Linked DNA regions of Homo sapiens: all the other regions are linked to region 1. Evidence: promoter capture Hi-C in human tissues and cell types (Jung and others, 2019). All regions are on one chromosome and are shown on one strand. The core of a region is centred on a gene start or on the middle of the fragment in contact, and the rest is flanking DNA. Distances in the headings are between cores, read along the strand shown.

The links. Contacts are between HindIII fragments. The study calls those that stand out against the background at their distance.
Region 2: a fragment that was not itself captured here is called in contact with the fragment with the promoter of GRM2 in region 1 in 1 of the 25 tissues and cell types used here (dorsolateral prefrontal cortex).
Region 3: a contact is called between a fragment that was not itself captured here and the fragment with the promoter of GRM2 in region 1, in 1 of the 25 tissues and cell types used here (thymus).

Annotation. Positions count from the first base shown.
Region 1 is chr3:51,704,857-51,708,662 of GRCh38, forward strand. GRM2 (glutamate metabotropic receptor 2) reads left to right here and starts at 2,212. Exons shown (of 6, transcript NM_000839.5): 1 at 2,212-2,311. The HindIII fragment of the contact is 8,284 bases long and covers 1-3,806 here.
Region 2 is chr3:51,448,627-51,452,528 of GRCh38, forward strand. All of the region lies in intron 6 of DCAF1 (DDB1 and CUL4 associated factor 1), which reads right to left. Among named protein-coding and RNA genes, the nearest start is that of DCAF1, 49 kb to the right of the region's middle. The HindIII fragment of the contact is 3,124 bases long and covers 429-3,552 here.
Region 3 is chr3:51,406,791-51,410,556 of GRCh38, forward strand. All of the region lies in intron 23 of DCAF1 (DDB1 and CUL4 associated factor 1), which reads right to left. Among named protein-coding and RNA genes, the nearest start is that of RBM15B, 17 kb to the left of the region's middle. The HindIII fragment of the contact is 3,503 bases long and covers 260-3,762 here.

The sequences.
Region 1 (3,806 bases), core at 962-3,461:
GTCTGTGTGGATGGCTGTGTGCCTGTGTGAGTGTGTGTGTGTGTGTGTGTGTGTGTGTGTATTGCTGTGCTTTGTGTCTGTGTATGGTTGTATTATAGGAGCATGTGAGGCTGGCTAACAGCATCTCTATGGGGGCTTTGTTCATGTACAACTGTGTGTGGCTGTGTCTGTACAACTGTGTGTATGGTGATGTTCATGACGTTCATGTATAAAGCTATGTGTTTTGCTATGTGTCCACATATAAAAACACACATTTGCTATGTGTCCTGCAGCCGTATATCCATAATTATGGCCATGTATGTGTGGACATGTCTTGGTGGACAGCTATTTGTGGCATGTCCTTGTGTGAGCAGCTGTATATATGTGGCTGTGTCCACATGTGCAGCCGTGTGTAGACATGGTCACATGTTCTTAGGGGCAGGGGTGTGCCCATGTGTATTATGGCTGTCTACAAGTATAGCTGTGTGTGGTTGCATGTTTATGTGTACTATGCATGTGGCCATGTCCACATTTACAACTGTGTAAGGCTAAGTGTATGTCCTCATCCGTGTGCACACAGCTGGGAGTGGTGGCTGCCTAGCTGTGTGTAACTGTGTGTCCATGTGCTGCGACTGTGCAGCTTGTTTGCTGCAGGCCACATCATGGGCTTTTCTGGCTGATGCTGTACACAGCCATATCTGTGTTTACAGCCCTGTGCCTTTTGTGAGGCTGACTTGTTGAGCAGGTTGGGAGTGTGGCTAGAAGGAGTGTGTGACTCCTCACCTCAGCACCCTCCTGCTGTCAACCCCTCTGCTCCAGAGGCCTGGCCCATTGCTCACCTACCCCAGGGAGCTGTTGCTCTGAGGCAGCCAGAGAGGGTGAGAGCAGCCGGTGGCAGAGTTGGAGGTGGAAGACAGCATGTCTGTCTCCCACTGCCACCTTGTCTCCTGTTAGTGATGGGGCTTGTGTTTGTTTGGGTTTTATGTGTCTGTTTCGTTTCAAAGCTGTATTCTTTCCACAGCAGCAGGACATCAGGTTTCTGTGTCCAGGGAAAAAGCTCGTCCTTGGTGATCACCCCCGCACCCCTACGGACTGCCACACGCACATGTGGGTGTGTGTGCCTGAGGGGTCTGGGCTTGGCATGTTCATTAGCATGTATCTGAGCTGGCCTTGCTTCCACTGACACCTGTGGAAGAAAGGGCAGTGTCGGGAATGTGTGTAGGGATGCCATGCCCCTTGGCACTTGTTAGTGTGTGCACATGTTAGGGGCAGATAGCACAGGCTCTCTAATCCCCATTCCTTCAGCACAGTCTGGCACTACAGCTTATCCACTACCCTCTACCCAGGGGCGTCCTTCCCCATCCTGCTGTGGGAGGGAAGAGTCAAGAGAATCTTCTCAGAGCTGTCCTCCCTCTGCTTGGGCTCCAGCTCTCACTCCCTCCTACGCAGCAGCCAGTTCCAGAAGCCTTTCCCTAGGCCCCTCCCCTCCCAGATGCCCCTGCCATCCCTAACACTCCCTCAGGGTTGACCCTAGTACTTGGTTCTGCAGCCCTTCCTGCAGGTTGCTCTCTCCTTGCTTAAATACCCTTTTTACATGGGAGTGGGTGGCAGGTTTAAAGGGCATCTGCAGGAAGGAAGGGGAGGCCCCATTCTCCTCTGACCTCTCCCTTCCCCCAATCTTTTCCTCATAGTGACTCTGGCTCCAGGTCTCAAAAGTGGCAGAGGACACATGCCTCCAACTCAGGCCTGGGATGTGGACCCAGCTGAAATCGCTGAGTGGGGAGAATAGACTCCACCCGTCTCCCACGCGCCCCTTTACCTATCCCCCAGAGGCACCCCTTGCACTAAGGCCAGCTCCTCCACTCTGCAGTAGCACTATGGGCACCTGTCGGGGCGCAGTGACCTTCCCCACCCCGTGCCCCGTGGCATCCCCCCGCCCCCCACCTATGCTCTCTAGGTGGTAGTCTGACTATGGGGCGGAGTGGGCCACGAAGCACCCGCTCCAGCGCAGAGCGAGAGCGCTCGGGGATTCAGCACCACGAGGCGGACAGCTCCAGGCCCTGAGGTCCCCAGAAAAGCTGGAGCGCGGAGTGTCCAGAGGAGGCGGAGGCTGGGTTGGGAGCAGGAGACCTGGCGTCTGGAGGAACGGAGGAGGGGCTGGGGGCGGGCCGGGGCCGGGGGCGGGGCGGGGCGGGCCGCGATTGAAAGCGGCGGGGCGAGCGGGCGGGCGGAGAGCGCAGAGCCAGCGAGCCAGCGAGCGAGCGAGCGGGAGCCGGAGCCTCGCGCCCCCCGCTCCACTCCGATTCTCTCCGCGCCAGAGCCAGCGCGCCAGGTAGGGTGAGCCGGTGGTGGTGGTGCCGCTGCCGCTGCCGACCTTTTTGGCCCTTACCTCACGTCCCAGGGTCCTGCGGGCCCTCAAGTTGTGGGGCGCCCGCGCTGCTGTGTCCAGACAGCGTTCCCTGAGAGCTCCGGGAAGCGGGAAGACAGCCCCGGGCGTCCCGCCTTTCTTCTCCAGAAAACGCACGCCCCACATCGCACTCCCCCGTTCCTCCTGCTCCAGCGTCCTCTGGTCCTTCTTTCTGTCTGTGCCTCCGTCTTTGTCTCAACCTCTCAGGCTTGCTCGCTCCCTGCCCAGATTTTGTGGCCCAGGCTCCTGGCTGTCTGACTCCGGGTTTCTGTCCCCTTCCTGCCTCTGAGCTTCCGTCTGGGCCTCCCCTCTGGGAGACTTGCGACTTGACCAGTTTTGGCTTCAGCCCCCATCTGGGTCCCTGTCTCCATCTGTGCTGGTCTTCCTCCCTGCTTCTCCCTCGCTTGCCTGGGTAAGCTGCTGCTTTCCTGATCCCCAGAGGAGCCCAGTGCCCCTGCCCTGGGGAGCTGAGGGGGCAAAATGAAGAGGCTCAGCCTCCGTGGCCAGCACATGGGGTCCTTGAGTTAGTTGCTGCCCTTCTTCAAACTCAGTTTCCTTTCCTGTTCTGAGGAAAGAGGTATGTCCCTCTCCCAGCCTTTCCAAGCCTGTGTGATTGTGAGAGCCTTTGTGGGGTGTGTGTTTGGGAAGGCAACTGGGGTACAAATGATTGGACGCAGTGGGGAAGAGACAGGGAGGGGGTCTCTGAGGGCCATGGCTAGGGTGGGCAGGGCCCTGAAGCTGAGGATGGGGAGATTGGAAATGGTGACTTTCTCTGCTGGGTCGGGAGTGAAGAGAAAACAGAGGCACAAAATCTCAAGCAGTGTTCTACACAGAGCTAGAGAGTCCCGCACTCTCACCCTCAGCACTGTTTGGAGACTCTAGCCCCCAACCCTGACACACACATACGTGAACATCTGCTTGCCCTGTTGACTTAGGACCTTGAGCCACTTGGGTACCCTCCCTGAGGCCAGCCATTCCACCTTGCTGTCTCATTCCCAGGGCTTAGTGTCTCTATTCCTTCCTCAGTCAGCAAACTGTGGGGATGGCTTTTTAAGAACCAAAGGTTAGAACCCTTGGGTGTTCACATGGGCTCCAGTCTCCCCACGGGTTGGAGACTGTCCCTTAGAGATGCTTCCCTTCCTCTTCCCTGGTGGGTCCTGAGACAGCAGTTCCTTCTCTCTGGAAATCCAAGGCTCAGGATGGGGACCTCTGAGTTTGTGACTGTGACATAGTCTGTTCCAAAGGTATTGACCTCGGGGTCCTGGGAGGTTTGTGCTGTTCTTGGACACCCTTTGAATTACAGAGGGGTCAGCATTGGCTGGGGTCTCCTGTCCTCTGCCTGGGACTTCACTGCTTGCATCTCTCCCCACTGCTGAGTTTGGTAGGGGAATATGGCCCATCTCTCACCAAGCTGAGGCCA
Region 2 (3,902 bases), core at 741-3,240, 260 kb before region 1:
CATTTTAAAGAGTATAATTCAGTAGGACTAAGTACATTCAAAATGTTAAATAACTATTACCGGTATAGTATCTATTTTCAGAACTTCTTCATTATGCAAACAAAAACTCTGTACCCCTCACTTTCAATTACGATTAAGACAACCAGACAGAAGATCAATAAGGAAACAGAGAACTTGAACAACACTATAAGCCATTGAACCTAAAAGATGTACACAGAAAACTCCACCCAACAACAGTAGATTACACAGTCTTCTCAAGTACACATAGAACTTTTTCCATGTTCTTTTATGTTTTTTTTTTCCCAGAGTAAACCATATGTTAGGCCACAAGTCTTAATAAATTTAAAAAGATTGAAATCTCACAATCTTTTCTAGTCAAAATGGAATGAAACTAGAAATCAACAATATCGCAAAACTACAATAGTCACAAATACATGAAAATTAAACATCACTCTTAAATAACTAATGAGTCAAAGAAATCACGAGGGAAATTAGAAAGTCACTTTGGACAAATGAAAACACAACCATACCAAAACCTATGGAATGCAGCAAAGGCAGTGGTTAAAATGAAATTTATTTATTTATTTCTCTTTTTTTTGAGATGCAGTTTTGGTCTTGTTGCCCAGGCTGGAGTGCAATGGCACAATCTTGGCTCACTGCCACCTCTGCCTCCTGAGTTCCAGTGATTCTCCTGCCTCAACCTCCCAAGTAGCTGGGACTACAGGCACACGCCATCACGCCTGGCTAATTTTGTATTTTTAGTAGAGATGGGGTTTCACCATGTTGCCCAGGCTGCTCTCAAACTCCTGACCTCAGGTGATCCACTCATCTCGGCCTCCCAAAGCACTGGGATTACAGGCGTGAGCCACTGTGCCCGGCCAGAATGATATTTATAGCTGCAAACACATGCAATTAAAAAAGAAGAAAGATCTCAAATCAAATTAGGAACTAGGCCTAACTATGCCTTATGCCATATGCCACTAGAAAAAAACAATACTCAAAGCTAGCAAAAGAAATAATAAAGATTATAGTGGGGAAAAATGAAATAGAGAATAGAAAAATACAGAAAGTCAATGAAACTAAAAGTTCTTCACCAAGATCAACAAAATTGACAAACTTTTGGCAAGACAGGTCAAGAATAAAAGAGAGGACTCACATTACTAGCAACAGAAATGAAACAGGCCTCATTACTACCAACTTTATAGAAATAAAAAGATTTATAAGAGAATACCATATACAATTGTACAACAACAAATTGGATAACCAAGATAAAATGGACAAATCTACCAAAACTGACTCATAAAGAAACAGAAAAACTAAATAGACCTATAAGTAGTAAGGAAATTGAATCAATAATCAAAAACTTCCCAAAACAGAAAAACCCAGGACATGATGACTTCACTAGTAAATTCTACGAAACATTTAAAGAAGAATTAAAGCCGGGTATGGCGGCTTATGCCTGTAAGCCCAACAATTTGAGAGGCTGAGGCAGGAGGATCACTTAAGGCTAGGAGTTCGAGACAAACTTAAGCAACAAAACCAGACCCATCTCTTTAAATAATTAAATAAAATAAAGAAGAATTAACACCAATCCTTCTCATAACTCTTCCCAAAAATTGACTGGGAGGTAACACTTCCTAACTCATTTTATGATGCCAGCATTACCAAAGCTAAAGACACTGTGAGAAAACAAAACTATAGACCAATATATCACTCATGACTATAGTTATAAAAATCCTCAACAAAATACTAGGAAAATGAATTCAGCAGCATAAGAGGATTATACATCATGACTAAATAAACTAAATCTCAGGAATTCAAAGACAGTTCAACATACCACATAACCACTGCAACTGATACCAAAAAAATGTTGACAAGTCAATACCCTGTAATGAAAAAACAATAAACTAGATTCTAGAAGGAAACATCAGCATAATAAAGGCCATTTATGAAAACTCATAGCTAATATCATACTCAACAGTGAAAGACTGAAAGGCTTTCCCTTAAGATCAAGAAAAAGATATCCACTTATTTTTTGAGAGACAAGGTCTCACTATGTTTTCCAGGATGGTCTTGAACTCCTCAGCACAAGCGATCTTCCCACCTCGGCCTCCCAAAGTACTGAGGTTACAGGCGTGAGCCACCACGCCTGGTCAAGGTGTCCACTTTTGCCACTTCTATTAAACATAGTACTGGAAGTTCTAGTGAGAGTAATTAGACATAAAAAAGGAAATTAAAGGAATCCAGATTAGAGAGTAAGAAGTAAGATTACCTCTGTTGGCAAATGACGTGATCTTATATGTGTAAAACCCTAAAGACTCCATACACAAAAAAACCTGTCAGTGAAGTAACACATTCAGCAAAGTTATAGGATACAAAATCAACATACAAAAATCAGTTGCACTTCTATACACTAGCAATGAACAATATAAAAAGGAAATTCTTTTTTTTTTTTTTTTTTTTTTTTTTTTTTTTTTTTAGTGACAAGGTCTCACTCTGTCACCCAGGCCGGAATGCAGTGACATAATCATAACTCACTGCAACCTCGAACTCCTGCGCTGAAGCAATCCTCCTGCCTCAACCTCCCAACTAGCCAGGACTACAGCCATGTGACACCACACTCAGCATATATATATATATTTACAGATGGGGTCTCACCATGTTGCCCAGCCTGCAGCCAAATAATTTTAAATAAAAATAAATTTTAGGCCAGACACAGTGGCTCATGCCTGTAATGCCAGCACCTTGGGAAACCAAGCCAGGGAGGATCATTTGAGCTCAGGAGTTCAAGACCAGCCTGGGCAACATAATGAGACTCTGTGTCTATTTTTTCGTATATATTTAAAAAATAAAAATAAATAGATTTTAGGTCAGGTGTAATCCCAGCACTATGGGAGGCCAAGACGGGTGGATCACCTGAGGTTAACAGTTTGAGACCAGCCTGGCTAACATGGTGAAACCCCATCTCTACCAAAAATACAAAAAATTAGCTGGGCATGGTGGCAGGTGCATGTAATCTCAGCTACACGGGAGGCCGAGGCAGGAGACTCCCTTGAACCTGGGAGGCAGAGGTTGCAGTGAGCTGAGATCATGCCGTTGCACTCCAGCCTGGGCAACAAGAGCAAAACTCTGTCTCAAAAAAAAAAAAAAAGATTGTAAAGCTTTTTTTCAATATCTCTGAAAGTAAAAGTCAACAACTTTTTAAAAACAGTGGCGGAATAAAACCAACTTAGTACACTGAACCAGCATTTTAAAAAAGAAATAAGTAAAAAAGTATCAGAATGAATTGCACAAAGAGTAAACAGTGTTTTTAAAACTTCTTTTTCATACATATAATGTATGGACTGGGTTTCAAGGTTTAAAAAAAAGTACATGTTACTATGTTTCACAAAATTTGAAAAACACCATCCTAGAGCAATAAGTCTTTTTCTTTTCTTTTTTGAGACAGGGTCTCGCTCTGTCTCCCAGGCTGGAAAGCAGTGGCACAATCACAGTTCACTGCAGCGTCCACCTCCTGGGCCCAAGCAATCTTCCCACCTCAGACTCCCAAGCAGCTGAGACCACAGTGTGCACCACTACACCCACAAAGAGACTCCATCTCTTTGTAAATGAGGTCTCCTTAGGTTATCCAGGCTGAATAAGTCTTAATTATAACTTCTGAGGAACACCAATAGCTAATTTGTTGAGAAATAATGATTTCTGACTCATTAATTGCTATAATTAAAATATTTTAAGAAATATTGATTTATTAAAAAAAGCTGCATAGGATACTTCTGAAGAGTACAGATCATCATGTAATCAAGTAACACAATATGAAAAAGGCTTGCAATCTGTTCTCTAAACACTGGATTCAAGACAATTTCCAATCTAATGCACAATGGAATAAGTCACTTCTCCCAATA
Region 3 (3,766 bases), core at 761-3,260, 300 kb before region 1:
ATCCCCACCTCACCACCACCTTCACACTGGCTTCTCACTTTCTATGCCAAGAGGTTCAGTTCTCCCAAACCTAATAAGCTCTCCATCTACATAGGCTTCAGATGCCTTTTACCTACACTTTGGCTGGGCGCAGTGGCTCACACCTGTAATCCCAGCACTTTGGGAGGCCAAGGCGGGTGGATCACCTGAGGTCAGGAGTTCGAGACCAGCCTGGGCAACAGGGTGAAACCTCGTCTCTACTAAAATACAAAATTAGTCGGGTGTGGTGGCACATGCCTTTAGTCCCAGCTACTTGGGAGGCTGAGACAGAAGAATTGCTTGAACCTAGGAGGCGGAAGCCTGGGCGAGACAGAGTGAGACTCCATCTCAAAAAAAAAAAAAAAAAAAAACAACAACAAAACCGTCATTCAAATCTGATCCTGACCTTTATGTAACATGTCATATTTTGCTAAATGTATAAATGCCTACTTTTTAAAAAATACTTTTTCTGTCCTTAAAGGCTATAGGTTCACTTTAGGGTCATAAATGTTTGTTTTTCTTTCCTCAATGGCAGAATCTAACTCAAGTTACATTTCAATTCTTTAAGAAAATGAGGCCTTTCAGGAATCAACACATTCAGCTCTGACCAGGTGTGTGTAATCAGTAAAGACTCTTAACATCCGCTTCTAGGCAGTGGAGAACACACAGGAAGCACAGCACACAGTGTGTCCCAGACTCCAAAATGGAGTGGAAAACAGAGAGCATTATTCCTTTGTTGAGTTTTTTATTATAAATTTAAGGTTAAGTATAATTAGCTAAAATGTATTGGCTTGTCAAAATCTAGGAGCAATGATCAATTACTTATCTTGGGTTTTGTAACTTTTCTAAAAGTCAAATCAAAGATGAATGAACTGATTTCTAAAAACACAGGCACCAGGTTGGGCGCGGTGGCTCATGCCTATAATCCCAGCACTTTGGGAGGCCGAGGTGGGCGGATCACCTGAGGTCAGGAGTTCGAGATCAGCCTGGCTAACATGGTGAAACCCCATCTCTACTAAAAATACAGAATTGGCCGGTTGTGGTGGCAGGCGCCTACAATCCCAGCTACTCAGGGAGGCTGAGGCAGATTTGCCTGAACCTGGGAGGTGGAGGTTGCAGTGAGCCAAGATCGCAACACTGCGCTCCAGCCTGGGTGACAGGGCGAGACTCCATCTCAAAAAAAAAAAAAAAAAAAAAAAAACAACCAGATACCAAACTTCTAATGGATAATAATGAGCTGTGATAGGTGACTAGCTTATCTCTGCTTTCATCAAATGCCTGAAGGCAGGCAGACTAGCAGCCTCAGGAACCAAATATTTATGGGTGTCCAATACATTGTTTAGGTTTTCATTCATCTAGATACAGCTAGCTGTACCTTTCATCCTTTCCTCTTAATCTCCAAGCTTATTTAAGCATAAGGACAAAGGACAAATATTTTATGGCATGTCAATTATATCTCGATAAAGCTCTTTATGCTGGACCATTTTATTAGATGACGGCTGACCATTCAGGCTTCTGAATTTATTTTGCTATAATGAAAAGGCAAATTCAAAGGTGTTGGTCACAGGTGCCTGTATCCCTGAGCCACATAAGTCATATCTGGAACATCTGAGAAGACCTGAGAACAGATATCTAGACTAGGACAAAACTTTGAATAGCAAATGATTCATAGGAAAATGAAAAGTCTCTAGTTTTAAAATCAGGTGAAGCGTACAAAGCAAAGTAAAACTAGAGACTGGTTTTCCTACAAAGGAAAGTGAGTTTAAAAAAAATTCAAGCTGGCACACTGTGCATGAGAGGCAGTAGGCAGAAATCTGATGGAGATAGTAAAAACAGCCAAACTCCACCACAAGATTCTAGAAGGAGCATGGATCAACAGAATTAAGGTTACAAAAGAGACCTACTCAAATAGATACGGTATTATCCCGTATCTCTAAATCAAACATCTCTAAATCAAAAATCAAAATGCCAAGGGCTTGAGGGGATAAGCAGTTCTCTAACAGAGGTCCTTCAAACATGAAATGCACCAGATGATCAATAAAAGCTGTAATATCAGTATGGAGTGAAACATGCCTAGATCCTAAGAAATCTGGAAGCCACAGTAATAACTTAGCCATGTTGCACACCTACCCTGCCACCTAGTCTTCTCTGAGCTAGAAAGCTTTCCGGCTCTTCTACAGGCTGGGCTCCAGAGCCACTCCTTAGAGCCCTCTTGACCCTGCCCCTCTCACTCTTGGCTGTCACGCTGAGGCAGCCTCTTGCTTTCCTTCCTGCATCCAAGTCAAAAGTCCTGACCACTACCATATGCCCTTCCTAATCTCTTTCTCCCTTAACTTCTCAGAAGTTAAGCAGGACAAAAGAAGAAGAATTAGTCAGTCTTTTCCCTGACCCAAGCCTTCCTGGAGAGAGTGGGATAAGAGGAGTATAACTCTTAAATTATTCCCTTATGGTGGCCTCTCGCTTCCACAGCCAGCCACCAACCTCCAGTGCCTTTGCCTCTCACCACTCCATGTCTGCAAGAATAAGGCGAACCCAGAGAATAGCCTTCCAACTCCCAAGGTGTCTAGGGCAATCTCAACTTTCCTCTGAGTTGACCTCCCCCTCAAAGACAGACACCAGGCATCACATGGACCCAGGTGATGGTTCCCAGAGAAGACTGCCGCCCACTGCCTTATTAAATGCACGGATATGGGAGGGCTGGGATAATGATGTTGACAAACAATCCAGTTTTGGCCTCAGATTTATGCTTCAACATGTAACATCCAAGAAGCCTGATTCAGAACTGATACTTGGTAGTGATGAATAAACCCACGGAGGACAAAGCAGTCGACAGCCACCCATACCATTGTAATGTACGCGCAAATGGCCTGACAACTGCACCCTCTGTATGGACTCAAGAATAAACTACATCTTGTTTCATGATAGCTAATGTGAAAAAGTAGGCATTAAGGGAGTGAGGTGTCTAAGGTAGCAAACTGAAGTGAGAATAAAAGAACAGGCAGTATTAAGAAACCCACTCAAGGCAACCACATGAAATTTGGAGGACCTAATACCAAGCTCTGCTACCCAGAAAGACTAGAAACATGTACAAGCTGTAACAGCACAGCACTCAAGAAAACACTAAAATCCATGTCACAAATAAATCAAAGATTTCAAGTATCCACTGGAAAACCTCTCCCTTCTACCCATATCTCATAACTCACATGAGCTTTAGACACTGCTGGCTCCTCTCACCCATGAAACCAAGGCCCCTATAGAGCCCATATAGCTGGAAAGCAGTAAAGGAAAGCCTTTCTACACTAGCAGATCCTTGGCAGCATTTGGTGAAGTTGTTTCAAACTCTACAGCCTAATTATCCTTTACCAGGCCCTGAGGAAGGCTCTGCTCTGATCCCACCATGGCCACCAGCTGCCCACCACACAAGAGTCTCCTCACTCTGCTCAGAAGCCCATTTCTGCAGATCACGAATCATCTCGGGCCTCTAATAAAATGCATGCTTAGACAGTCAAAACAGTGAAGACCAAGAGAGCACACACAGGGGATTTTAGGTTGAGTCTCTGTTCTAGCTTTTTTACCCAGGTGTATCTGATCCAGGTATACTGTGTCATCTTTGATGTACAGGTGATGCAGTATTCAAAGGATTTGATTTACAGAACAAATGATATGCTCATATCCTGTAATGGCCAACAGTAAAACACATAGCTAAATCTCAACAAAACACTCTTGCTTAGTCAGTACTAAGTCCCAT